Linked DNA regions of Homo sapiens: regions 2, 3, 4, 5, 6 and 7 are each linked to region 1. Evidence: promoter capture Hi-C in 16 types of primary human blood cells and fetal thymus (Javierre and others, 2016). All regions are on one chromosome and are shown on one strand. The core of a region is centred on a gene start or on the middle of the fragment in contact, and the rest is flanking DNA. Distances in the headings are between cores, read along the strand shown.

Region 1 (3,318 bases), core at 297-2,796:
AACAGATTAATCACAGTTAAGTGACTTGCTCCTTATCACAGAGCTAGTAAATAGCATCCTGGAACCCATGTCTCCGGACTTTGCTCCTTCACTTGACCTCTGCTAATGTCCATTCAAATATCATTTCTTTTATCTAATAAGCTGAGAGATGTTTTACAAATTTAGGCAGAGACAATATTTTAAACCTATACATACTCAAAATACACAAAATCTAATTTTTAAAAAATGCCTTAAGAATAGTCATGCATTCCAAGGTGAGTTTCAAGACCAACACATACAATGAAATCATATGCATATTTGTTAAATACTGTAATAGTCAATGCTCAACACATCATTATTCTCTCATGCCCTCAGTGAAGTGATCCTCAAGAAGGTGAATGTAGACAAAATTGTAGAAAACGTTGTTCTAAGTCTTTCCCGTGCTTTCTAATAATAGAAAAGAATAGTCTCTTAGATATGTCTTTGTTTTCCCTGCTACATTATTAATACTCCTTGTTTTTTCTTTCCTACCCTGTACTATATTTCAATTACGTTATAGTCTAACAAAGAGAACAGGGTGGTTATTTTCATATGGAGATTATGACTGAATAATTCACTTCTAACTGTATTCAAGACATTGGCTTTGTTCTCCAAATACTTCTGAATTGAACCTTTACGATTATATAACCTTTCCTCAACTGTTCGGAAAGTATAAAACATTCCACAACGACCCCTAAGTAACTGTGCCCAGCAACACCAACTGGTCAGAGAGTGGGAAGGCTGCCCTAACAATTGAAGTCTTTTCCCTCCATTCAACGAACACTAAACACTAAGATCTACTTAGGAAAAGTCATGGGAAGGGGAGCGGTGGGCGGTACAAAGGAGATTCGGTCCCTGACCTAAAGAGCGTGGTGCTGAGACGAGACTTGGTCGAGGAGAAAGCCCCAGCTTTCGGCGTCAGCAGGGAGACACCAAAAAGGCTGTGCCTCGGTTTCCTCACCTGCTGAGGAGGGATACACCCCCACCAGCACGCTCGCAGTCTGCAGGCATGAAAACCGGCCTAAAGCGCTGCAGAGTGGCTGATTTTAAAAGGGGGATGGCTCCGTTTCTCCTCCAGAGTCAGGGCCCCGGACAGCGCGCAGAGCAGAGGCCAGCCCGAGTCACCGGGCGCGGTCCCCGCATCCGTGTGGGCGCCTCTTAGCTCCCGCCCAGAGAGCGGCCGGGCGGCCTTGCCCTCCGCAGCAGCAGCCCGGACGCCCGGCCAGGCCCACCCCGCGCACCCACAGCCCACGGGCCCAGGCGCCCCGCCCACCCTGTGCCGGCCCGGCTTGTCTCGGTAGCCCCGGGCTCCCCTCCCCCGCTTACTTTCTGGGAGTCCATGGCGAGTGGCTAAGCCCACTGGGCTCGAACCCGAGACGACGAACCGTGTGAGGAGGCTCAGCGAGATCGCACACCCCAAGACCGCTACTCACTGCACTGCCCCAGCCCGCACCGGCACCGCCCGGCCCCACCCGTCCGCGCCCAGACCGCGCGCGCCGTAGTCACGCCGCGGTTGCCAGGGTGAAAGGGCGGCCCGCAGAAGGGAGGGGCTGAGGAGCGCACCGCGCCTGCGCGCAGCGGCTGACTGCTCCCGGGAAGTAGCCGTGGAGGGTGGGGAGCGCCGCCCGTCTGTCTACCGCTAGTGCCTCTGCAGGCTGCACTCCCTTCCCCCATCCTTTTTCCTCCAGCGATAGCGGTCTCTCCGGCCCTGAAATAGGCCACTGGGCATCCAGCAGCCGGCCGGTGCGGAGGGCCCGGGAAGGAAAGAGTATCTGGTGCTGGAGACGGATTAGCCCACCCTCCACCCAGCACGCATCTGAAGCCCCTCCCCACACTATCCTTCGAGGGGCAGCCAGGCTTGAGCGGACCCAGCGGTCCAAAGGGAGGAAAAGGGCTGGGGTGGGGATGTAGCGAAAACGTGGGAAAAGACCTTTAGGGGATGTGGTGGAAACGTGGGAGGAGGGATATAGGGATGAGAGTGGCGGAAACGTGGGTGTGGGATTAATATGAGCTTTGGGGCCTGGCACAGTTTTTCCCGGGGACCCACCCATCCTCCCCGGCACCTCGCTACCTGTATGATTTTGAGCAAGTCAGTCTGCCTGAGCTTGTTTCATCTGTAAAATGAGAGAAATAATGCGGACTTTGCAGAGGATTGTGAGGATTAAATAACGTATGGTACATAATTAGTAGTGAATAAATTATAGTCATTCTCTTTTTTTTTTTTTTTTTTTTTTTTTGGAGATGGAGTCTCGGTCTGTCACCGAGGCTGGAGTGCAGTGGTGCCATCTTGGCTCACTGCAACCTCTGCCTCCCGGGTTCCAGGAATTCTCGTGCCTCAGCCTCATGAGTAGCTGGGATTACAGGCGCCCCCACCACACCTGGCTAATTTTTTGTACTTTTAGCGGAGACTGGTTCTAGCCATGTTGCTTAGGATGGTCTCGAACTCCTAAGCTCAGGCAGTCCGCCCACCTCAGCCTCCCAAATTGCTAGGATTACAGGTGTGGGTTACAGGGCATGTGCCAGGCCCATTATAGTCATTCTTAGTGGGGAGTTAGAACCTGCTCGGTGTGGCCTGAGGCATCAATGAAGATTTTAGAAAGCTTGGAATTTAGTAGGCTTGAGAAAGTTCTTCCTCAAGCAGACAGGCCTCATCTTCCATTTGGATGACTCTGGAGAGGCTCACAAAAGTTCAATTAGACAGTCATTTATGATGAATGAATAAAAGGGAAATACATATTGAGTACCTATTCTGTACCAGTTCTACAAACAAAATTCAGTAGTGGGCAAGGCCCTGTTTCTCTCACAGAGCTTACAATCTAGTATAGAAGACCAACCAAAAAAAAAAAAAAAGTTAACGTGCTAGACGGTTATAGGTGCTAAAATTAAAACTTAGGCCAGGCATGGTGGCTCACACCTGTAATCCCAACACTTTGGGAGGCCCAATGAGTGGATCACTTGAGTCCAGGAGTTCGAGACCAGCCTGGGCAACATGGCAAAACCCCATCTCTACAGAAATTAAAAAAAAAAAAATTAGCCAGACGTGGTGCTGCAAGCCTGTAGCCAGAGCCAATCAGGAGGCTGAAGCGGGAGGATCACTTGAGTCCTGGAGGCAGAGGTTGCAGTGAGCCTAGATCACACCACTGCACTCCAGCCTGGGCAACAGGGTGAGACCCCAGCTCCTAAATAAATAAATAAGGCAAATGGATTCAGAGAATTGGGAGGGTTTAATTTTTCATAGAAATGTCAGGGAAGATCTCTCTTGGAAATGACCTGAGTATAAAGTGAGAAGAGGAATTGTAC
Region 2 (3,318 bases), core at 819-3,318, 690 kb after region 1:
ACAAAATGCTATAAAGCAAAGAGTTGTCAGAATACAGTAGAAGAGCTATTCTGAAACAAATGAAGAGTCAAGATCTTAAAACAGTGACAAGTATTTTTAATGTATGACAGACACTGAAATACCATGCAGAAAGTAAACAGAACTATTTTTTGAAGTGGTACTTACAAAGCACAGATGTAGCCTTCATAATGCAAGAAACATAGCAAATTAACTTAACACCTCCTTCAAATAAAAGTGAGAACCTCTTGGGAGAATTTAAGCACCATTAGCAGACAGATCCTATAGCAGTTAATGAAATGTTTTGTATTTCAGTAGAAAACTATTTCAGTGGTGAAAACGATGTAGGAATCAGAAGCATATTCTGCTGAGATACTAGGTAGTTGACACTTTCCCGAACTGGAAAAACATTTCATAGAAAGGCATATAGAGTTACTGACTGAAACACATTTGTTCTAAAAATAATTCATGCCTAGTCAAACAGCTTACCAGCTGCCACAACTCTGGGATCCTCATGGGACTTATGTCTCCCAGCTGCACGACTATCTGCACTCTCATTCCACCAAAGAACATGAACTGCAGAAATAAACCACAAGTAGCTTCTAAAAAATATGGCCTTAACAAATAAGAAATAACAGAAAAATGAATCAAACCCATCCTATTCTTTTTTTTTTTTTTTTTTTTTTTTTGAAACAAGAGTTTCACTCTTGTCACCTAGGCTGGAGTGCAGTGGCACGATCTCGGCTCACTGCAACATCTGCCTCCTGGGTTCAAGCGATTCTCCTGCCTCAGCCTCCTGAGTAGCTGGAATTACAGGCGCCCACCACCACGTCCGGCTAATTTTTTTTTTTTTTTGTATTTTTAGTAGAGATGGGGTTTTGCCATGTTGGGCAGGCTGGTCTCGAACTCCTGACCTCAGGTGATCCGCCCACCTTAGCCTCCCAAAGTGCTGAGATTACAGGCGTGAGCCACCGCGCTTGGCCAAAACCATCCTATTCTTTAAATCGAAATAGTGATATCAAAAAGGTAAAACTAAATATGTTACTGATAAGATTTCAGAGGGGTCAGAGACTTGCTAGAGAAATTGATAAATTAATCAAATTGGTTTTATAGATGAAGAAATAGAAGGCTGGAAAACGGAAGTACTGAAGTAAAACAGCTAGAGGCACAATCAAGACAAGACCCAAATTTTATGATTTCCTACTATATTTTCCCTTGATTTTTAAAAAAGCAAAATTATGAGCAAATTGTGCTTATTATTAAAATTTTACATTATACAAAGAAGAAAATTGAAAGTGGTATAATGTTAACAGTATAGAGAAAACCTCTATGGAAATTTATTGTACTTCCTTTAGAAAATATGAGTAAAACCAAATCAGGGTCTTATTGTATATTATAATAACAGATTTAGCTTAGTAACAAGTTTTTAAAAACAGTATTTTCTATGGCAATATTAATTTTTAATGGTTATATAAATTCCTCCTTACAGATACAGCAACTTATTATGTCAACCCCTTATTGTTGACTATTTAGACTATTTCCAATATTTCAGTATTCTATAAAATACTGGAATAAATGTTGTTCTTGTACAAAATTGCTTATGAAGTTTTTATAATTGTAATATATACATGTTAGATGTATAGGAAAATGCAGATTAAAAACAAACTAATCATTTTATTTTTGGTGTATCTCTTTTATATTTGGTGTATCTCTTTCTATATTTGTGTATATATGTATTTTTATTTTTTAATTTTAATTTTATTTTTATTTTTGTAGAGACAGGTTCCCACTTTGTTGCCCAGGCTGGTCTCGAACTCCTAGCCTCAAGCAATCCTACTGCCTTGGCATCCCAAAGTGTTGGGATTACAGGCATGAACCACCACGCCTGGCCTGTATTTTTATATATAGTTGTATATGTATACAAATAAACATATATAAGCATATTTGCTTATGCTTATGTAAATACACGATATGACGTACATGTATATCGATTTCTGTATTACGTATGTATTACATAAAGAAGGTCATACTACATTTCCAATGTTTCTTTAATGTAAACAATATTAACATAAACTTCATTTGAGCACAACTATGTGTTTATAATAATACTTTCGATGACAACTACTGACATTTATTGAATGATAACTATGTGTCAGGCCTAGTTTTAAGCATTTTAATGTATTAACTCATTTAATCCTCATAATAATCTAGGTCCTCATAATAATCTATCATTTTATAGATGAAAAAACTAAGGTATGGTGAGGTTTACTTACCCAAAGTCAAAAAGTAAGTAGTGTACCTGGGATTCAAACCCAGGCAGTCTGAATCTGATTATTTCCTTAATATAAAGTAGAATTTAAGTTGACAGAACCAAAGAGCATGTCTTATATATATGTACTTACATATAGTGTATATAGTATACACTGTCCTCCAGAAATGATGTACTGATTACCAATTCTCCTAACACTGAGAATGAATTTAAGATTAAAAAGTGTATGAACACACATTTTCTGTAGTTTTTAAAAAAATAAAACTTAATATGTGCAGTATAGAAAATTAAGGTAGAGGCTAGGTGTAGTGGCTCAGGCCTCTTATCCCACCACTTTGGGAGGCCGAGGCGGGCGGATCACCTGTGGTCAGGAGTTTGAGACCAGCCTGGTGAAATCCTGTCTCTACTAAAAATACAAAAATTAGCTGGGCATGGTGGCACACAGCTGTAATCCCAGCTACTTGGGAGGCTGAGGCAGGAGAACCGCCTGAACCAAGGAGGCGGAGGTTGCAGGGAGCTGAGATCGTACCTGCACTCCACAGAGCGAGGCTCCATCTCAAAAAAAAAAAAAAAAAAAGAATATTAACATAGAGACTTAACCATTTATCTCACTGAAATATGACTACTATGTATGTTATATACTTTCAAATTTCTTTTCTGTATAATTTAGCACACCTATACACATACACACCCAGGCATATTTTCTAGAAGTAATACTGGCAAAAACAATAAAAATAAGGCTTTTATTTTTATTGTCAAATTTTGGGGGAAGATTAAGCTAATATGAACCCTACACAGTATCTGAGTACTTATTTTTTCCTGACCTAATACTATATCCATGTAAGTATACCTTTTATAAGGTAAAGAAATGGCATCTCATTATTGTTTTAATATGCATTTTCTTTAATATATATTTAGTAGCCATGTGCATGTCTACTTTTGCATAAATTTTTATTTTTATTTTTGCTTTTGAATTTCATTTATGGTGATTTTCAGGCATCCAGATAGTTTGAGCCTTTGTATAATAAAATCATAAGTTGATTTTTTTTTCT
Region 3 (3,318 bases), core at 550-3,049, 660 kb after region 1:
AAGAGCATTGATGTTATTACGGGAAGAAGCCTTTGAGGCTTTTATGTATTCCACCTCGGTCTGGAATTTGTTTCTGTAAGGCTAACAGTTGCAATATACTAGGGTAATCTGAGTGAGCTGGAATTAAAAAAAAAAAGGAATTTCACCCCAATCTTATACTGACTTCAATAGAGGTTTCAGACAAAAAGTTGTTTTGTATATACTTATCAGTCATGAAAAGATAATTACAACTAAATGGCCTTTTTCCTTCCCTATTTATTTGGAGAAATTTAATTACATAAAAAAGTACTCAGAATATTTGAGTTTCCTGCATCAATAAGACATTTATAATAATGACCTTGTTTACAAATGAATTTGAAAGTTACTCTAATTCTTTGATTCATCAAGAAATAACTAGAATGGCAAGTTAAAATTTAAGCTGTTTCAAAGATGCTTCTGCATTTAAAAACAAATTTATCTTTGATTTTTTTTCCCCCCAGCAAATAAGACTTATTTTATTCTAATTACAGGATGAACCCACCACAGGCATGGATCCCAAAGCCCGGCGGTTCTTGTGGAATTGTGCCCTAAGTGTTGTCAAGGAGGGGAGATCAGTAGTGCTTACATCTCATAGGTCCGTAGTAAAGTCTTGGGTTCCTCACTGTGGGATGTTTTAACTTTCCAAGTAGAATATGCGATCATTTTGTAAAAATTAGAAAATACAGAAAAGCAAAGAGTAAAACAATTATTACCTGAAATTATATATGCATATTCTTACAAAAATGCAAGCCCAGTATAAATACTGCTCTTTTTCACTTAATATATTGTAAACATTATTCCAAGTCAGTGCATTTAGGTGTCATTTCTTATAGCTGGATAGTATTCCATTAGGATATACTCTTATTTAACTATTCCCCCTTTTGTAGACATTTGGATTATTTCCAACTTGTTCACAATTGTAAACACCACTACACTGAACAGCATCATCCCTATATCCACATGTACTTGTAACAGAATACAATTCCCTAGGAAGCTGGAATGCTGGAAGTCATGGTGATGTTCTCATGGTTACAGAGAATCTCTCTAAAACTAAAACCTCTTTCTGTTTTACCGCAGTATGGAAGAATGTGAAGCTCTTTGCACTAGGATGGCAATCATGGTCAATGGAAGGTTCAGGTGCCTTGGCAGTGTCCAGCATCTAAAAAATAGGTAATAAAGATAATTTCTTTGGGATAGTGCCTAGTGAGAAGGCTTGATATTTATTCTTTTGTGAGTATATAAATGGTGCCTCTAACATAAAGGGAAATAAAACTGAGCAAAACAGTATAGTGGAAAGAATGAGGGCTTTGAAGTCCGAACTGCATTCAAATTCTGTCTTTACCATTTACTGGTTCTGTGACTCTTGGGCAAGTGACTTAACTACTGTAAGAGTTAGTTTCCCTGGAAGATCTACCTCCTAGCTTTGTGCTATAGATGAAATGAAAAAAATTTACATGTGCCAGTACTGGTGAGAGCGCAAGCTTTGGAGTCAAACACAAATGGGTTTGCATCCTGGCCCTACCAATTATGAGCTCTGAGCCATGGGCAAGTGACTAACTCCCTGGGCCTCAGTTTCTCTGTAACATCTGTCAGACTTCATGGGTCCAGGTGAGGATTAAAGGAGATCATGTATTTACAGCACATGGCATGGTGCTTCACATAAAATAAGTATTTAGTAAATGATAACTGGTTCCTTCTCTCAGAAACTTATTTCTGGGCCTGCCAGGGGCCGCCCTTTTTCATGGCACAAGTTGGGTTCCCAGGGTTCAGTATTCTTTTAAATAGTTTTCTGGAGATCCTCCATTTGGGTATTTTTTCCTGCTTTCAGGTTTGGAGATGGTTATACAATAGTTGTACGAATAGCAGGGTCCAACCCGGACCTGAAGCCTGTCCAGGATTTCTTTGGACTTGCATTTCCTGGAAGTGTTCTAAAAGAGAAACACCGGAACATGCTACAATACCAGCTTCCATCTTCATTATCTTCTCTGGCCAGGATATTCAGCATCCTCTCCCAGAGCAAAAAGCGACTCCACATAGAAGACTACTCTGTTTCTCAGACAACACTTGACCAAGTAAGCTTTGAGTGTCAAAACAGATTTACTTCTCAGGGTGTGGATTCCTGCCCCGACACTCCCGCCCATAGGTCCAAGAGCAGTTTGTATCTTGAATTGGTGCTTGAATTCCTGATCTACTATTCCTAGCTATGCTTTTTACTAAACCTCTCTGAACCTGAAAAGGGAGATGATGCCTATGTACTCTATAGGATTATTGTGAGAATTTACTGTAATAATAACCATAAAAACTACCATTTAGTGAGCACCTACCATGGGCCAGGCATTTTACTTGGTGCCTAATCCTATTTAAATTAGATAAAAAAGTACCAAATAGGTCCTGACACTTAAGAAGTACTCAGTAAATATTTTCTTCCCTCTTCCCTTTAATCAAGACCGTATGTGCCAAAGTAAATGGATGACTGAGCAGTTGGTGATGTAGGGGTGGGGGGCGATATAGAAAGTCAGTTTTTGGCCGGGCGTGGTGGCTCATGCCTGTAATCCCAGCACTTTGGGAGGCTGAGGAGCAGGCAGATCATGAGGTCAGGAGATCCAGATAATCCTGGCCAACAGGGTGAAACCCCGTCTCTACTAAAAATACAAAAATTAGCTGGGCATGGTGGTGCGCACTTGTAGTCCCAGCTACTTGCGAGGCTGAGGCAGGAGAATTGCTCGAACCCAGGAGGTGGAGGTTACAGTGAGCCAAGGTCTCGCCACTGCACTCCAGCCTGGGGACAGAGCAAGACCCCATTTCAAGGGGGGAAAAAAAGTCTATTTTTAAGTTGTTATTGCTTTTTTCAAGTATTCTTCCCTCCTTCACACACAGTTTTCTAGTTAATCCATTTATGTAATTCTGTATGCTCCTACTTGACCTAATTTCAACATCTGGAAAAATAGAACTAGAATAAAGAATGAGCAAGTTGAGTGGTATTTATAAAGGTCCATCTTAATCTTTTAACAGGTATTTGTGAACTTTGCCAAGGACCAAAGTGATGATGACCACTTAAAAGACCTCTCATTACACAAAAACCAGACAGTAGTGGACGTTGCAGTTCTCACATCTTTTCTACAGGATGAGAAAGTGAAAGAAAGCTATGTATGAAGAATCCTGTTCATACGGGGTGGCTGAAAGTAAAGAGGAACTAGACTTTCCTTTGCACCATGTGAAGTGTTGTGGAGAAAAGAGCCAGAAGTTGATGTGGGAAGAAGTAAACTGGATACTGTACTGATACTATTCAATGCAATGCAA
Region 4 (3,318 bases), core at 331-2,830, 640 kb after region 1:
CTGCACTTGCCATCGCTTTTGCTCAGAATGTTCTTTTTGCCAAGCTTTTGCCCAGCTTGTTCTCCATCATTGTTATGTTTTGGCTGAAATGTCTTCTCTTAGTAGGTTCATTCTCCCCAGTCACTGTCTTTTTATTTTGCTTTATTTTGGGCCATCTAAGGTTATCTTATTAGTGTATTTGTTGTTCGTCTCCTCCATGGGCATACACCTCCATGAAGGCAGGTATTTTCACCTTAGGCCCTCGAATATACTGGACAGCATCTGGCACGTAGTAGATGCTCAACGAATGTTTGTTGTGTGAGCAAATGGTTGGTTGATTGGATTGAACTGAGTTCAGTATGTAAATATTTAGGGCCTCTTTGCATTCTATTTTACTTATGTATAAAATGATACATAATGATGATATAAATGATGTCACAGTGTACAAGGCTGTTGTGGGATCAAGCAATCAAATGAGATCATGCTTGTCTTTTCCAAATGGTGAGGGAATAGATGCATGTTTGTGGTTGTTACGGAATGATCCTGTGCTCCTGAGGCAACAGAAAGGCCAGGCCATCTCTGGTAATCCTACTCTTGCTGTCTTCCCTTTGCAGAGACACGCCCTGCCAGGCAGGGGAGGAAGAGTGGACCACTGCCCCAGTTCCCCAGACCATCATGGACCTCTTCCAGAATGGGAACTGGACAATGCAGAACCCTTCACCTGCATGCCAGTGTAGCAGCGACAAAATCAAGAAGATGCTGCCTGTGTGTCCCCCAGGGGCAGGGGGGCTGCCTCCTCCACAAGTGAGTCACTTTCAGGGGGTGATTGGGCAGAAGGGGTGCAGGATGGGCTGGTAGCTTCCGCTTGGAAGCAGGAATGAGTGAGATATCATGTTGGGAGGGTCTGTTTCAGTCTTTTTTGTTTTTTGTTTTTTTTTCTGAGGCGGAGTCTTGCTCTGTCGCCCAGGCTGGAGTGCTGTGGCATGATCTTGCCTCACTGCAACCTCCACCTCCCAGGTTCAAGCGATTCTCCTGCCTCAGCCTCCTGAGTAGCTGGGATTACAGGCACGCACCACCATGTCTGGCTAATTTTTGTGTTTTTAGTAGAGATAGGGTTTCGCCGTGTTGGCTAGGCTGGTCTGGAATTCCTGACCTCAGGTGATCCACCCGCCTCGGCCTCCCAAAGTGCTGGGATTACAGGCGTGAGCCACTACGCCCAGCCCTGTTTCAGTCTTTAACTCGCTTCTTGTCATAAGAAAAAGCATGTGAGTTTTGAGGGGAGAAGGTTTGGACCACACTGTGCCCATGCCTGTCCCACAGCAGTAAAGTCACAGGACAGACTGTGGCAGGCCTGGCTTCCAATCTTGGCTCTGCAACAAATGAGCTGGTAGCCTTTGACAGGCCTGGGCCTGTTTCTTCACCTCTGAATTAGGGAGGCTGGACCAGAAAACTCCTGTGGATCTTGTCAACTCTGGTATTCTTAGAGACTCTGTTTGGGAAGGAGTCCTGAGCCATTTTTTTTTTCTTGAGAATTTCAGGAAGAGGAGTGCTTATGATAGCTCTCTGCTGCTTTTATCAGCAACCAAATTGCAGGATGAGGACAAGCAATTCTAAATGAGTACAGGAACTAAAAGAAGGCTTGGTTACCACTCTTGAAAATAATAGCTAGTCCAGGTGCGGGGTGGCTCACACCTGTAATCTCAGTATTTTGGGATGCCGAGGTGGACTGATCACCTAAGGTCAGGAGTTCGAAACCAGCTTGGCCAATGTGGCGAAACCCTGTCTCTACTAAAAATTCAAAAATTAGCCAGGCATGGTGGCACATGCCTGTAATCCCAGTTACTTGGGAGGCTGAAGCAGGAGAATTGCTTGAACCTGGGAGGTGGAGGTCGCAGGGAGCCAAAATTGCGCCACTGTACTCCAGCCTGAGCAACACAGCAAAACTCCATATCAAAAAATAAAATGAATAAAATAACAGCTAATCTAGTCATCAGTATAACTCCAGTGAACAGAAGATTTATTAGGCATAGTGAATGATGGTGCTTCCTAAAAATCTCTTGACTACAAAGAATCTCATTTCAATGTTTATTGTTTAGATGTTCAGAATAAATTCTTGGGAAAGACCTTGGCTTGGTGTAAGTGAATTACCAGTGCCGAGGGCAGGGTGAACCAAGTCTCAGTGCTGGTTGACTGAGGGCAGTGTCTGGGACCTGTAGTCAGGTTTCCGGTCACACTGTGGACATGGTCACTGTTGTCCTTGATTTGTTTTCTGTTTCAATTCTTGTCTATAAAGACCCGTATGCTTGGTTTTCATGTGATGACAGAGAAAACAAAACACTGCAGATATCCTTCAGGACCTGACAGGAAGAAACATTTCGGATTATCTGGTGAAGACGTATGTGCAGATCATAGCCAAAAGGTGACTTTTTACTAAACTTGGCCCCTGCCGTATTATTACTAATTAGAGGAATTAAAGACCTACAAATAACAGACTGAAACAGTGGGGGAAATGCCAGATTATGGCCTGATTCTGTCTATTGGAAGTTTAGGATATTATCCCAAACTAGAAAAGATGACGAGAGGGACTGTGAACATTCAGTTGTCAGCTTCAAGGCTGAGGCAGCCTGGTCTAGAATGAAAATAGAAATGGATTCAACGTCAAATTTTGCCACTTAGTAGCAACTTGACCAGGTAACTGGTTATCCTTTTAAAGCCTTAGTTTATCTAAATTGTGATATTAATGTTGCTCTTATAAGTTTGTCATGAGGACTAAATTAAATGGTGTACATAGAGTGCCTTGGGTACTCTCTGATGGGGGACTCCATGATAATTTGTGGTCTCATGGAGGGAGCTCTGGGAAGGTTTAGGAGCCTGCCTTGGCTCTGCAGCCTTGGGAGAGCCTTCTAGCTTCCCAGGACATGGCAGCCTAGTGTTGAATGCTTGGCTCAGCAAATGTTTGTTCTCGTTTCCTTCCCATCAACTTGGTCAGTTGGGGTCTTTCAGTTAGGAGTATCTCAGTGACTTTAAATGGCATGGGCATGCTGGAGTGATAGTGACCATGAGTTTCTAAGAAAGAAGCATAATTTCTCCATATGTCATCCACAATTGAAATATTATTGTTAATTGAAAAAGCTTCTAGGCCAGGCACGGTGGCTCATGCCTGTAATCCCAGCACTTTAGGAGGCCAAGGCGGGTGGATCACTTGAGGTCAGGAGTTTGAGACCAGCCTGGCCAACATGGGGAAACCCTGTCTCTACTAAAAATACAAAATAAGCTGGGCGTGGTGGTGCGTGCCTGTAATCCCAGCTACTTGGGAGGCTGAGGCAGGAGAATTGCTTG
Region 5 (3,318 bases), core at 334-2,833, 610 kb after region 1:
GGATGGTCTCGATCTCCTGACCTCGTGATCCGCCTGTCTCGGCCTCCCAAAGTGCTGGGATTACAGGCGTGAACCACTGCGCCCTGTTGAGAATTTTTTTTTTTTTTTTTGGGAGACAGAGTTTCGCTCTTGTTGCCCGGGCTAGAGTGCAGTGACACAATCTCGGCTCACTGCAACCTCTGCCTCCTGGGTTCAAGCGATTCTCCTGCCTCAGCCTCATGCGTCACCACGCCCAGCTAATTTTGTATTTTTAGTAGAGACAGGGTTTCTCCATGTTGGTCAGGCTGGTCTCGAACTCCCAACCTCAGGTGGTTCGCCCGCCTTGGCCTCCCAAAGTGCTGGGATTGCAGGCATGAGCCACTGCGCCCAGCCCCAAATTTTGGTTTTTGCTTGAAAACTGAGGTCTGAATTCAGCCTTCTGGTTGCCCCTCAAGAGTCAGTTTAAATGTTGGTCATGTTAGTTGTCAGTGAAAACAATGGTGAGGCTGGCATGAGAGTGTGAATCTGGATGGGAGGGCTTGTGCTTCATGAAAACATTTTTCCAGATCAGCTCAGTCGTGAGTTATCCGTCATTGACGTTATAATAAGCTCTGATTATTTATCAAGCATCATTCTTTATAGATATCTCAGTTTAATCTGAGATAATCTTCTCCACATCTCTCCACATAGATGTTATGAATTTTACTTTTACAGAGGAGCCAACTGAGGCTCAGATAAGTTACTTATTATATGACTAGTAGTGGTAGAGCTGGGGTTTCAACTAAGAACTCTCTGGCTCCAAAGCCCTTGTAAGTTTCTATCAGTATATGACCATGCATATGAGCATTTGTCTCTCCTCTTCTTCATAGCTCCTTACTGCAATGATTTGATGAAGAATTTGGAGTCTAGTCCTCTTTCCCGCATTATCTGGAAAGCTCTGAAGCCGCTGCTCGTTGGGAAGATCCTGTATACACCTGACACTCCAGCCACAAGGCAGGTCATGGCTGAGGTAAGCTGCCCCCAGCCCAAGACTCCCTCCCCAGAATCTCCCCAGAACTGGGGGCAAAAAACTCAAGGTAGCTTCAGAGGTGTGCGCTAAGTATACTCACGGCTCTTCTGGAATTCCCAGAGTGAAAACCTCAAGTCTGATGCAGACCAGAGCTGGGCCAGCTCCCCAGTCGTGGGTATAGAATCATAGTTACAAGCAGGCATTTCTTGGGGATGGGGAGGACTGGCACAGGGCTGCTGTGATGGGGTATCTTTTCAGGGAGGAGCCAAACGCTCATTGTCTGTGCTTCTCCTCCTTTTTCTGCGGTCCCTGGCTCCCCACCTGACTCCAGGTGAACAAGACCTTCCAGGAACTGGCTGTGTTCCATGATCTGGAAGGCATGTGGGAGGAACTCAGCCCCAAGATCTGGACCTTCATGGAGAACAGCCAAGAAATGGACCTTGTCCGGGTGAGTGTCCCTCCCATTATTACCATGTGCCTGCTTGATACTGGAGAGGTGAGTTTCTGGTCACTTTCCCAGGTGTGAGTGAGGTGAGAATTCTTTCAGTTTATCTAGCTGGGGGAATGTAGTGAGCATAGCTAAAGTCACAGGGCACCACCTCTCCAGAAGTACAGGCCATGGTGCAGAGATAACGCTGTGCATATCAGCATCCATGCCACTCACGGTCAAATAGCAGTTTTCTGCAAAACTTAGTGAGGGCTGGTGTTTGGAAGTGGAGTTGAGTAATTGCAGTACCCTATTTTCCTTTTTGGCTGCAGCCTCTCAGCCAGCCACAGCATCTCCCTGTGTCTTGGTAGGTTTTGGAAAGAAGTGTGGGAGCAAAAGCATGATGTTACATGTAGACTGGCCTGAGATACTCATTCTCAGGGCACTGTGTGAATGATGAGCTGCTGTTACTGTGTGGAGGGGAAATGCACTTAGTGCTTCAGAGCCACTTGAAAGGGATAAGTGCTCTAGAGACAATTGGGTTCAAATGTGGAGCAGGCTGAGCAAGAACAGAATGTCTCCTTTGCCTGAGCCTGAGTGCTGTTAATCACATCTTCCTGCCTTGGGCTGAGTTAGAGAATCATTAGACTATTTCCTGTTTCCATGGTGAGGGAGGCCTCTTCCTTTTGTCTCTGCTCCCCTTAAGAAGCAGGTGAGGATTTTGCCAGGTTTCTTGTTTTGAACCTTATTGACTTTAAGGGCGGCTGGGTTTTAGAGACTGTACCTACCTAGGGGGAACACTTCCGAAGTTTAGGACTATTCCCTGATCCGCTGGGAGGCAGGTTACTGAGGAAGTCCCTTTAAAAACAAAGGAGTTTATACTGAGAAAAGCATAAACAGTGATTTGTATGGATTCACACTGACTAATATAGCTCATGCCATTAAAGTGGGGTCTCTTCTCTAAAGGAGGGTTATATGATCTAGCCCCGTAGACCTAAGTGTGGTTTCAGACCTGTTCTTCCTGGTCCTCTCCTTGGAATCCATATTTCTACTAGTTGGACTTTTTCTGTTTGTCTGGCTCTCAGAGGATTATAGGAGGCCCTGTGAAGTGACTCAGTGAATTTTGATTTGTGGGCAAGTAGATGGTTCCCTAGTCTGAAATTGACTTTGCCTTAGGTGCTTCAATTCTTCATAAGCTCCCAGTTCTTAAAGGACAAGATCCTTGTAAACATGGCAATGGCATTCATTAGGAATCTAGCTGGGAAAATCCAGTGTGTATGCTTGGAAATGAGGGATCTGGGGCTGGAGAGAAAGGCATGGGCATGCCTTGGAGGGACTTGTGTGTCAAGCTGAGGACCTTTACTTTAAGCTCTAGGGGACCAGGCAAGGGGAGATGTAGATACGTTACTCTGATGGGGTGGATGAATTGAAGAAGGATGAGGCAAGAATGAAGGCAGAGACCAGGGAGGAGGCTCTCCAAGTGGCCAAGGCATAAAGCAAGAAATGAGGCCTGGTGACTGCTTAGTGGCAGAGCAGTGAAAGAGAGGGAGGCATCAAAGTGAGTCTCGATTTCTAGCTGGGTGGGTGGTAGCGATGTCCAGTAGGCCAGTGGCTACTGAGGTCTGCAGTGGAGGAGGGTGGTTGGGCTGGAGACAGATGATGAGGGAGTCATCAGCCTGTGGGTGGAAGAAAAGGGAACCTCTTCCAACTGTTTTCTTTGCTTCTTCCCTCTCTTTCTCTTTTTTTTTTTTTTTGGACAGAGTCTTGCTCTGTCACCCAGGCTGAAATGCAGTGGCATGATCTTGGCTCACCACAGCCTCCGCCTCCTGGGTTCAAGCAATTCTCCTGTCTCAGCCTCCAGAGTAGCTGGGATTACAGGCACATATCACTGTGCCCGGCTAAT
Region 6 (3,318 bases), core at 428-2,927, 590 kb after region 1:
GACTCTTACTTATTGAATTAAGCAGGGCCTTAATTGGAATGCTGGGACTGATACTTGATTTGCATTAAGCAGCCTTTTTCTATTGCTGCTTGGTTGAAATTTCAACATTTGTGATGGTAGATGGATGTGACATGTGATGACATTGCACATGGGCAGTTAACTGTGCCAAGAAGTGCAGCAGTAGCAGCAACCGGAGATGCAAAGCCCAACATGATGGGGAGAGAAACTCTTCTTTCAATATGTGCTTCTGTACCAAAAGTGGAATTTCACGAGAGACATATTTTGAAACATTTCTCCTTTTGTGTGTGCGTGAGTGTTTCCCTGTTTCCAGCCAAGGGTATTGTGAGTTTCTCCTGGGCCTCCTTCAGAATCTGGGTGCTCTGGAAAGCAGTGTTTTGGCAACATGGGGAAAGTATGGCAGTGTGGGAGGGTCAGCTGGGTCTGGGTTTGAATATTGCATTTGAATATTTTACCAGCATTGATGTCGGATAAATTATTTAGTCCCTGTAAGCCTCAGTTTTCTCTTCTTCTACATACACATAATATATTTGACTCTTTGTTGTGATTATTGGTTACACATATGAAGAGCCTGGTGTGGGGCCTGGCACACAATAGGTGCTCAATAAATAGAAGTTGATAATTTAATTGACATGAGTAGTAGAAATTATGTCCTTGAAAACAATTGCGTCAAGATAGAAGTTTTCAGCCAGGCACAGTGGCTCACATCTGTTGTAATCCCAGCATATTGTGGGGGCCGAGGCGGATGAATCACTTGAGGCCAGGAGTTCAAGACCAGCCTGGCCAACGTGGTGAAATCCCCTCTCTACTAAAAATACACATATTTGCCAGGCAGGCGTGGTGGCGCACACCTGTAATCCCAGCTACTGAAGAGGCTGAGGCACAAGAATCGCTTGAACCCAGGAGGTGGAAGTTGCAGTGAGCTGAGATCACTCCACTGCATTCCAGCCAGCGTGACAGAGTGAGACTCTGTCTCAGAAAAAGAAAAAAAAGATAGAAGTTTTCTTCTGTAGATCAGTGTTAGAACTCATACCAAGCGAAGTGGTCCTGGTGAGTATTTCAGTGAAAAACTGCATTCTTGCTCAGATATTGTCAAGACTTTTCACCCAAAGATTCTTATTTATGTCTCAGTCCGTACCTTGTGTGAAAATTAATACTGGATGTCAGAACGCTGTTGTGTTTTTAAAGTTCCCTGGGGTTAAGAGCAGTTTCCATTAGGTGTTCTCTGCTTTTTACTTAAAAATCTTACTCATGCATTGAGCAATATTTATTCAGTTCTTATTATGTGTCAGGTATTTTCTAGGAGCTGGACTCAACTCAAAAGATATCCTTTTGATGAGAACAAAGGTGGGTGGATATATGAAATATTATCTGTGGGATAAATGCACTTAGTCATGAGGGAGACTTGTTATGGAGTGCGCTCATTGTATTTGTACTGTTGAGTTAACAACTTCTAGGAGGAGCTCAGGGCCACCTGGCAGGGGCTTCTTTTGTCTTGCTGCTCAGCAAGGTGTATTTTGCTGTAGAGTGTGCTGGGCAGGTGAACTTTTCTTAACTTTCTCTTGGGTCCTTCCTAAAGCAGCATGTACCTTTCCCAGAGCGAGGAGAGGGCCACCTTCCTGTCTCACAGAAACCTCCAATCTGTTTTGGACTGCAGGAAGGAGCCATAGTAGTGGACCAGCAAATTTTGGCCCGAGAGATTGATTTGCTTCCGATTGTACTTTTTTTTTTTATTGCTACTATAACAAGTCACCAAATACTTAGCAGTTTATAACCACATACATTTATTATTTCATAAGGCCAGAAGCCAGGATACAGTAGAGCTCACCTAGGTCTACTTCTTAGAGGCTCACAGGGCTGATATCAAGGTGTTTGTGGGGCTGTGTTTTTTTGGGGGGGCTCTGAAGATGAATCTGCTTTGGAGCTCATCCAGGATATCAGATGAATTCAGTCCCGTGCAGTTGTAGGACTGAAGTCCATTTCCTTGCTGGCTGTCAGCAGGGGCTGGTTTTTGCTCCTAAAGGTTGCCATCATTCCTTCTTATGCTTTTCATGTGACTCCTCTCCCACAAGTGGGTTGAGTATCTCTCACACTTTAAACCTCTGACGCCTCCTGTCACATCTGTCTCCAGTCAGAGAAAGTTCTTTACTTTTAAGGGCTCAGGTGTTTAGTTTGGGCCCATTCACATAATCCAGGATAATCTCCTTATTTTGAGGTTCATAACTTTAATTACATCTACACAGTGCATTTGCTATGAAATGTGCATATTCACAGACTCCAGGAATAGGGTGTGGACATCTTTGCAGGGGATATTCAGTCTGCTGTAGCTTTCTTGATTGGAAGGAATAGTTTATCATATATTTGAAGTGTTCCCTCAGTGCCTTTGGCTTTTGTTGACCCCTCTGCAGCTCTCTGCTTTTTCTTGCCCATATTTGGAAAGTGACTCTAAAGCATAATAAGCATCACCTATTAGGGTTTTTAATGTACAAACCAAACAGAGGTGACTTTGGGAGGAGAACATCTCTGAACTAGGTATGAGACATTCATCGAAAAAAATCCATCAAGTGTTTATTGTATGTCTGCTTTATACCAGCACTGTTCTAGGCACTGAAGTTCGACCACCAACAAGGCAGTTGTGATGCACTTGGAGCTTTCATTCTGATGGGCATTGAGATCCAGGCTGAAGGCTGAGTCTGGGAATTTGAGGAATTCTTTGTAGGTCCTGGGTCTACAGAGTGAGAGCTGTCCTCGTTCCAGTTTCACTGATGACCTCTCGACCAGCTCCCTCACAGCAGTCTTTGCCAACACAGACACTGTGGGCTGTAGTGGGAGGAATGTGGGGTTGAATGAGCTAGGTTTGGGCTCTGTCCTTGACTCACCATTGCCTCAGTGATGTGAAAATGGTGTCTGATCCTTAAGGTTGGAAGTCCAGGCATGCAGATTTATCTCCATCTCAATAACGTGGGGAAAAAAAAGAAGTGGTTTTTGTGGAACCAGTGGTTCCACTGTCCACGTGTCTTCCAGTGTGCCTAGCACATTCCCACCAAGTGGATCTTGGTTCATGAGGGAAAGAAGGGAAAGTGAGGGTGCCCCGAGGCTCCCAGAAGACAAGTAATGTCACAGCTGAGCTGTGTACAGATCGAAGAAGCAGATGGATAAGGAGTGAACAAAGTCATCCTTGTCTTGAGGGGTCTTTATTTAGCTTCTTCTTGACTCTTAGACAAGGACCCAGAATACAGATGGGGCTTGTTGTTACCTTCAGCCTCATGGCTTTTTAGGGCTAGATACTTCAGCTTGTTA
Region 7 (3,318 bases), core at 418-2,917, 570 kb after region 1:
CCGGGCGGGGGCTGCCCCCCACCTCCCTCCCGGACGGGGCGGCTGGCTGCCCTGCTAATTTTTGTATTTTCAGTAGAGATGGGGTTTTACCATGTTGGTCAGGCTGGTCTCGAACTCCTGACCTGTTGATCCACCTGCCTCAGCCTCCCAAAGTGTTGAGATTACAGGCATGAGCCACTGCGCCCGGCTCTGTTTTTTTGTTTGTTTGTTTGTTTTTGTTTTTGTTTTGAGACGGAGTCTTACTCTGTTGCCCAGGCTGGAGTGAGTGGAGCGGCACGATCTTGGTTCACTGCAACCTCTGCCTCCCGGGTTCAAACAATTCTTCCTGCCTCAGCCTCCCGAATAGCTGGGATTACAGGCACTTACCACCAGGCCTGGCTAATTTTTGTATTTTTTAGTAGAGACGGGGTTTTGCCATGTTGGCCATTTGAACTCCTGACCATCTTTGAACTCCTGACCATGTTTGCCATGTTGAACTCTTGACTTCAGGTGCGTTGGCCTCCCAAAGTGCTGGGATTACAGGTGTGAGCCACCATGCCCAGCCTGTTTGGCCTTTCTGATATGGCTCTGACTAATCTTTTTGGAAATTAGTCCCCAGGGTTATACTGGATTTTACTTAGGGAAAAGGGTCATGCCTCTCTGGCTGTCAGATTTACTGATAGTACTAAGGACTCAGTGGGGTGGACCTTTGATTCTGGTTTGATTTTTGAAAATCAAAAAGACGTGAGCTCCAGGGAGCAGGGTGGCTTTGGTGACATGGCAAGATAGTTGGCTGTGGCAGGGAGTTGAGGGAAGTGGGTAGAAAATTAACATCTTGTAAATATTCCCTGGGAAATATACCTTCGTGTTAAGAGAACAGACTTGGCAGCCAGATGGCCTAGGTTCAAATCTTGGCTTGATGCTTATCAGCTGTGTAACCTTGGATAATTCCATACATCTCTGTGCCTCAGTTTCCTCAAATGGAATAACAATAGTACCTCCCTCAGGACTATTGTGGCAAATTAATGGACGAATAAGGGGAAGCACTTAGTACAGTGCCTGGCCCAGCATAGGTACCAGGCTTGTTCTTAAGCTCACTGCATTTTTACAATCATCATAAAATGCAGGGGATACACACATGAAGGAGCCGAAGTTCAGAGAGGCCAAGTAACTTGCCTAAGAAAGCACAGCTGGCAAGGGGCAGTAATAGGACCAGAATTCCAGTTTCTCGTGCTCTGTTGTTGTTATATCCTAAAGAGAGCAGCTCTGAGTAGCCAGAAGCTTCCCTAAAGTCACAGGACATGGGGCATGGGCTGGCTGGGATGAGAAAGGAGACAAGAGGGCTTCTGAAAGAAATGCCAGATTCACTCCACTTCCTGGCTTCAGGCACCGATGGAATGTTTCCCAAGGCCCATCTAGAAAGAACATCCTGTGACTCACAGCCACTTCTCATTTTCTGTCTGAACCCCCTCACCCATTCAGGCAGCTGCTAAAGTTGAGGTTACAGCCTCAGACTATATTTTCTGTCCTTGTGGAACCCCAGTGTGTCATCTTGTTGGGAGATCTGGTGATACATGTGTCAACATTATGTCATCAAAATGGAAATTCTTTGAAATCTTTAGGTGATTGCAATTCACGTTCTGTATGTATGCACTTGTCAAAAGTTTTGATTTGAGGCCTTAGAATTTTATATTTGGAAACCTTTCCACTACCATGAGTTTTCCCAGACCTGTCAAAGCCAGGCTGCATCTCAGAAACCAGGTCTTTGATTTCCATCCAGGGCAAGGGCCTGGGCCCAGCTGGGCTGTAAGCAGGTGGGGGTGGGGAGCAACGCTGCACTGCAATGTTGAAATATTACTTGAACTAAATCAAATCAAAGATCAGCTTTACTCAGACAAGAATAGAAAACACAATTGCATTCGATTACAGAATAGTGTGTATCCCCACAAATATCAGACTGCCTTTAAAAAGTTTTGAATTGTTAACATCAAGAACAGTGTTGCGTGTCTCCTGCTTTTCCAGCATAAGGTTTATTTATTCTGTGGGTGGCAAAGAGCAATTTGGGAGTCCAGTTTGTTTCTCATTGAAAGCTTTCCCATTTCTGGTCCTCTTGTCACTGTTGCATTGAGGCACCAAAAGGCAATCTCAGTGCGACACTATTCAACAGACTAAGTTGCACCGGATAATGATACCATTTTACATTTTTCATATATTATTACATTGAAGGCTTCAAACAGCACTAGCAGGGGCAAATTGGTATTATTATCTCCATTTCATTGATGAGGAAACCGAGGCTCGAAAGGGTAATGTCTGTTGTCCAAGATTAAAGAGTAAAGTTGTACGTTGAATCGGGGTCTGACTCCTAGGCTTAGCATTTTCTCCCCACACTATGCTGCCATGTTGCTTATTCCAACATTAGGAAGCATAGGTGCCATCCCCAGCTTTTGAGGCCAATATCACGATGAAGCATTTTTAAAACATCTCATTAAATTGCTGATATAGTGGAAAGAACCAAAGCTTTGCAGTCAAAGCTGTTTGGGTTCAAATTTACCACTTGTTTGTTCTATGACCCTGAGCAAGATATTCTCCAGATCTGTTTCCTCATTTGAAAAATGGGAATAATAATACGTTTCTTTATAGGCTGTTCTTAAAGATTCTGGAAAATAATGCTAATAGTGTGCCTAATGCTTGGTAAATATGAGTCACTTTTCTGTGCCCACAAAGCACTACTATGTCCCTTAATAAATTTTGTTAATTTTAAAAGTTAGAAAAAAATTAAACTATTTATACATTGTGTATGTTAATTCTTCCCTAGACCAGCCTTAGGAAGAATCTCATCCCCAACTTGTAAACTCATCTTTTTCCGTTCTTTTTGTGCCTGGACTTCTCAGGGCCCTGCAGGCTGATTCTAGTCCCATGTTGTGTGGTGTTTGAAGTGTCTGGTCCCTTTTTTCAGTGAGAGACCAGCTCATCCTTGGGAACTGAATGCCTCAAACTCTCTTTTCTTTTTCTCTCTTCCCCTTCTGTTTGATGTAGTCTTTCCTGTTTCTGGACTCTGTTTCTTCATACTTCCTATCTCTTACCTTCTTTTCACTCCTTTTGTCTTCCAGCTGTCCTCTCTCATTTTTCTGCCTCTCTGGTCTTCAGGTAGAGTTTTCATCTCAGCTATCTTCTTGCTTTTTCTGATGTTGGTTCTTTGTTTCTTCTTCTCATTCTGTTCAGGTCCAAAATTCATTTGGGTCAATGTTATGTCTTAGTGTTATCTTCCATTTCCTTCTGAGCTTCAAAGCCAGGCTGACTGTGCCCTTCCACGCCCTGGCCAGTGTGACCAGGACATCC

Evidence for each region. Contacts are between HindIII fragments. The CHiCAGO score rates a contact against its expected background, and 5 or more counts as called.
Region 2: a contact is called between a fragment that was not itself captured here and the fragment with the promoter of FSD1L in region 1, in 2 of 17 cell types (monocytes and activated CD4 T cells). The highest score is 8.3, in monocytes.
Region 3: a contact is called between a fragment that was not itself captured here and the fragment with the promoter of FSD1L in region 1, in 3 of 17 cell types (monocytes, naive B cells and total CD4 T cells). The highest score is 9.1, in monocytes.
Region 4: a fragment that was not itself captured here is called in contact with the fragment with the promoter of FSD1L in region 1 in 1 of 17 cell types (monocytes); the score reaches 5.2 in monocytes.
Region 5: a fragment that was not itself captured here is called in contact with the fragment with the promoter of FSD1L in region 1 in 8 of 17 cell types (non-activated CD4 T cells, total B cells, fetal thymus and 5 more); the score reaches 7.2 in non-activated CD4 T cells.
Region 6: a contact is called between a fragment that was not itself captured here and the fragment with the promoter of FSD1L in region 1, in 6 of 17 cell types (activated CD4 T cells, naive CD8 T cells, total CD4 T cells and 3 more). The highest score is 9.8, in activated CD4 T cells.
Region 7: a contact is called between a fragment that was not itself captured here and the fragment with the promoter of FSD1L in region 1, in 7 of 17 cell types (naive CD4 T cells, naive CD8 T cells, non-activated CD4 T cells and 4 more). The highest score is 6.6, in naive CD4 T cells.

The regions. Positions count from the first base shown.
Region 1 is chr9:105,446,262-105,449,579 of GRCh38, reverse strand. FSD1L (fibronectin type III and SPRY domain containing 1 like) reads right to left here and starts at 1,546. Exons shown (of 14, transcript NM_001145313.3): 1 at 1,345-1,546. The coding sequence starts at 1,359. RefSeq lists a silencer at 1,056-1,665. The HindIII fragment of the contact is 4,464 bases long and covers 1-2,620 here.
Region 2 is chr9:104,756,340-104,759,657 of GRCh38, reverse strand. NIPSNAP3A (nipsnap homolog 3A) reads right to left here. Exons shown (of 6, transcript NM_015469.3): 5 at 487-573; 6 at 1-396. The coding sequence ends at 320. Among named protein-coding and RNA genes, the nearest start is that of NIPSNAP3B, 6.1 kb to the left of the region's middle. The HindIII fragment of the contact is 8,593 bases long and covers 1-3,318 here.
Region 3 is chr9:104,784,168-104,787,485 of GRCh38, reverse strand. It overlaps ABCA1 (ATP binding cassette subfamily A member 1), which reads left to right. Exons shown (of 50, transcript NM_005502.4): 47 at 510-613; 48 at 1,096-1,188; 49 at 1,847-2,090; 50 at 3,031-3,318. The coding sequence ends at 3,171. It also overlaps a transcript of NIPSNAP3B not described here. Among named protein-coding and RNA genes, the nearest start is that of NIPSNAP3B, 22 kb to the right of the region's middle. The HindIII fragment of the contact is 596 bases long and covers 1,502-2,097 here.
Region 4 is chr9:104,803,706-104,807,023 of GRCh38, reverse strand. ABCA1 (ATP binding cassette subfamily A member 1) reads left to right here. Exons shown (of 50, transcript NM_005502.4): 31 at 594-783; 32 at 2,304-2,398. Among named protein-coding and RNA genes, the nearest start is that of NIPSNAP3B, 41 kb to the right of the region's middle. The HindIII fragment of the contact is 3,067 bases long and covers 47-3,113 here.
Region 5 is chr9:104,835,098-104,838,415 of GRCh38, reverse strand. ABCA1 (ATP binding cassette subfamily A member 1) reads left to right here. Exons shown (of 50, transcript NM_005502.4): 10 at 849-988; 11 at 1,320-1,436. Among named protein-coding and RNA genes, the nearest start is that of NIPSNAP3B, 73 kb to the right of the region's middle. The HindIII fragment of the contact is 5,491 bases long and covers 1-3,318 here.
Region 6 is chr9:104,852,891-104,856,208 of GRCh38, reverse strand. The region is part of intron 7 of ABCA1 (ATP binding cassette subfamily A member 1); the gene reads left to right. Among named protein-coding and RNA genes, the nearest start is that of ABCA1, 74 kb to the left of the region's middle. The HindIII fragment of the contact is 9,731 bases long and covers 1-3,318 here.
Region 7 is chr9:104,871,480-104,874,797 of GRCh38, reverse strand. All of the region lies in intron 5 of ABCA1 (ATP binding cassette subfamily A member 1), which reads left to right. Among named protein-coding and RNA genes, the nearest start is that of ABCA1, 55 kb to the left of the region's middle. The HindIII fragment of the contact is 809 bases long and covers 1,263-2,071 here.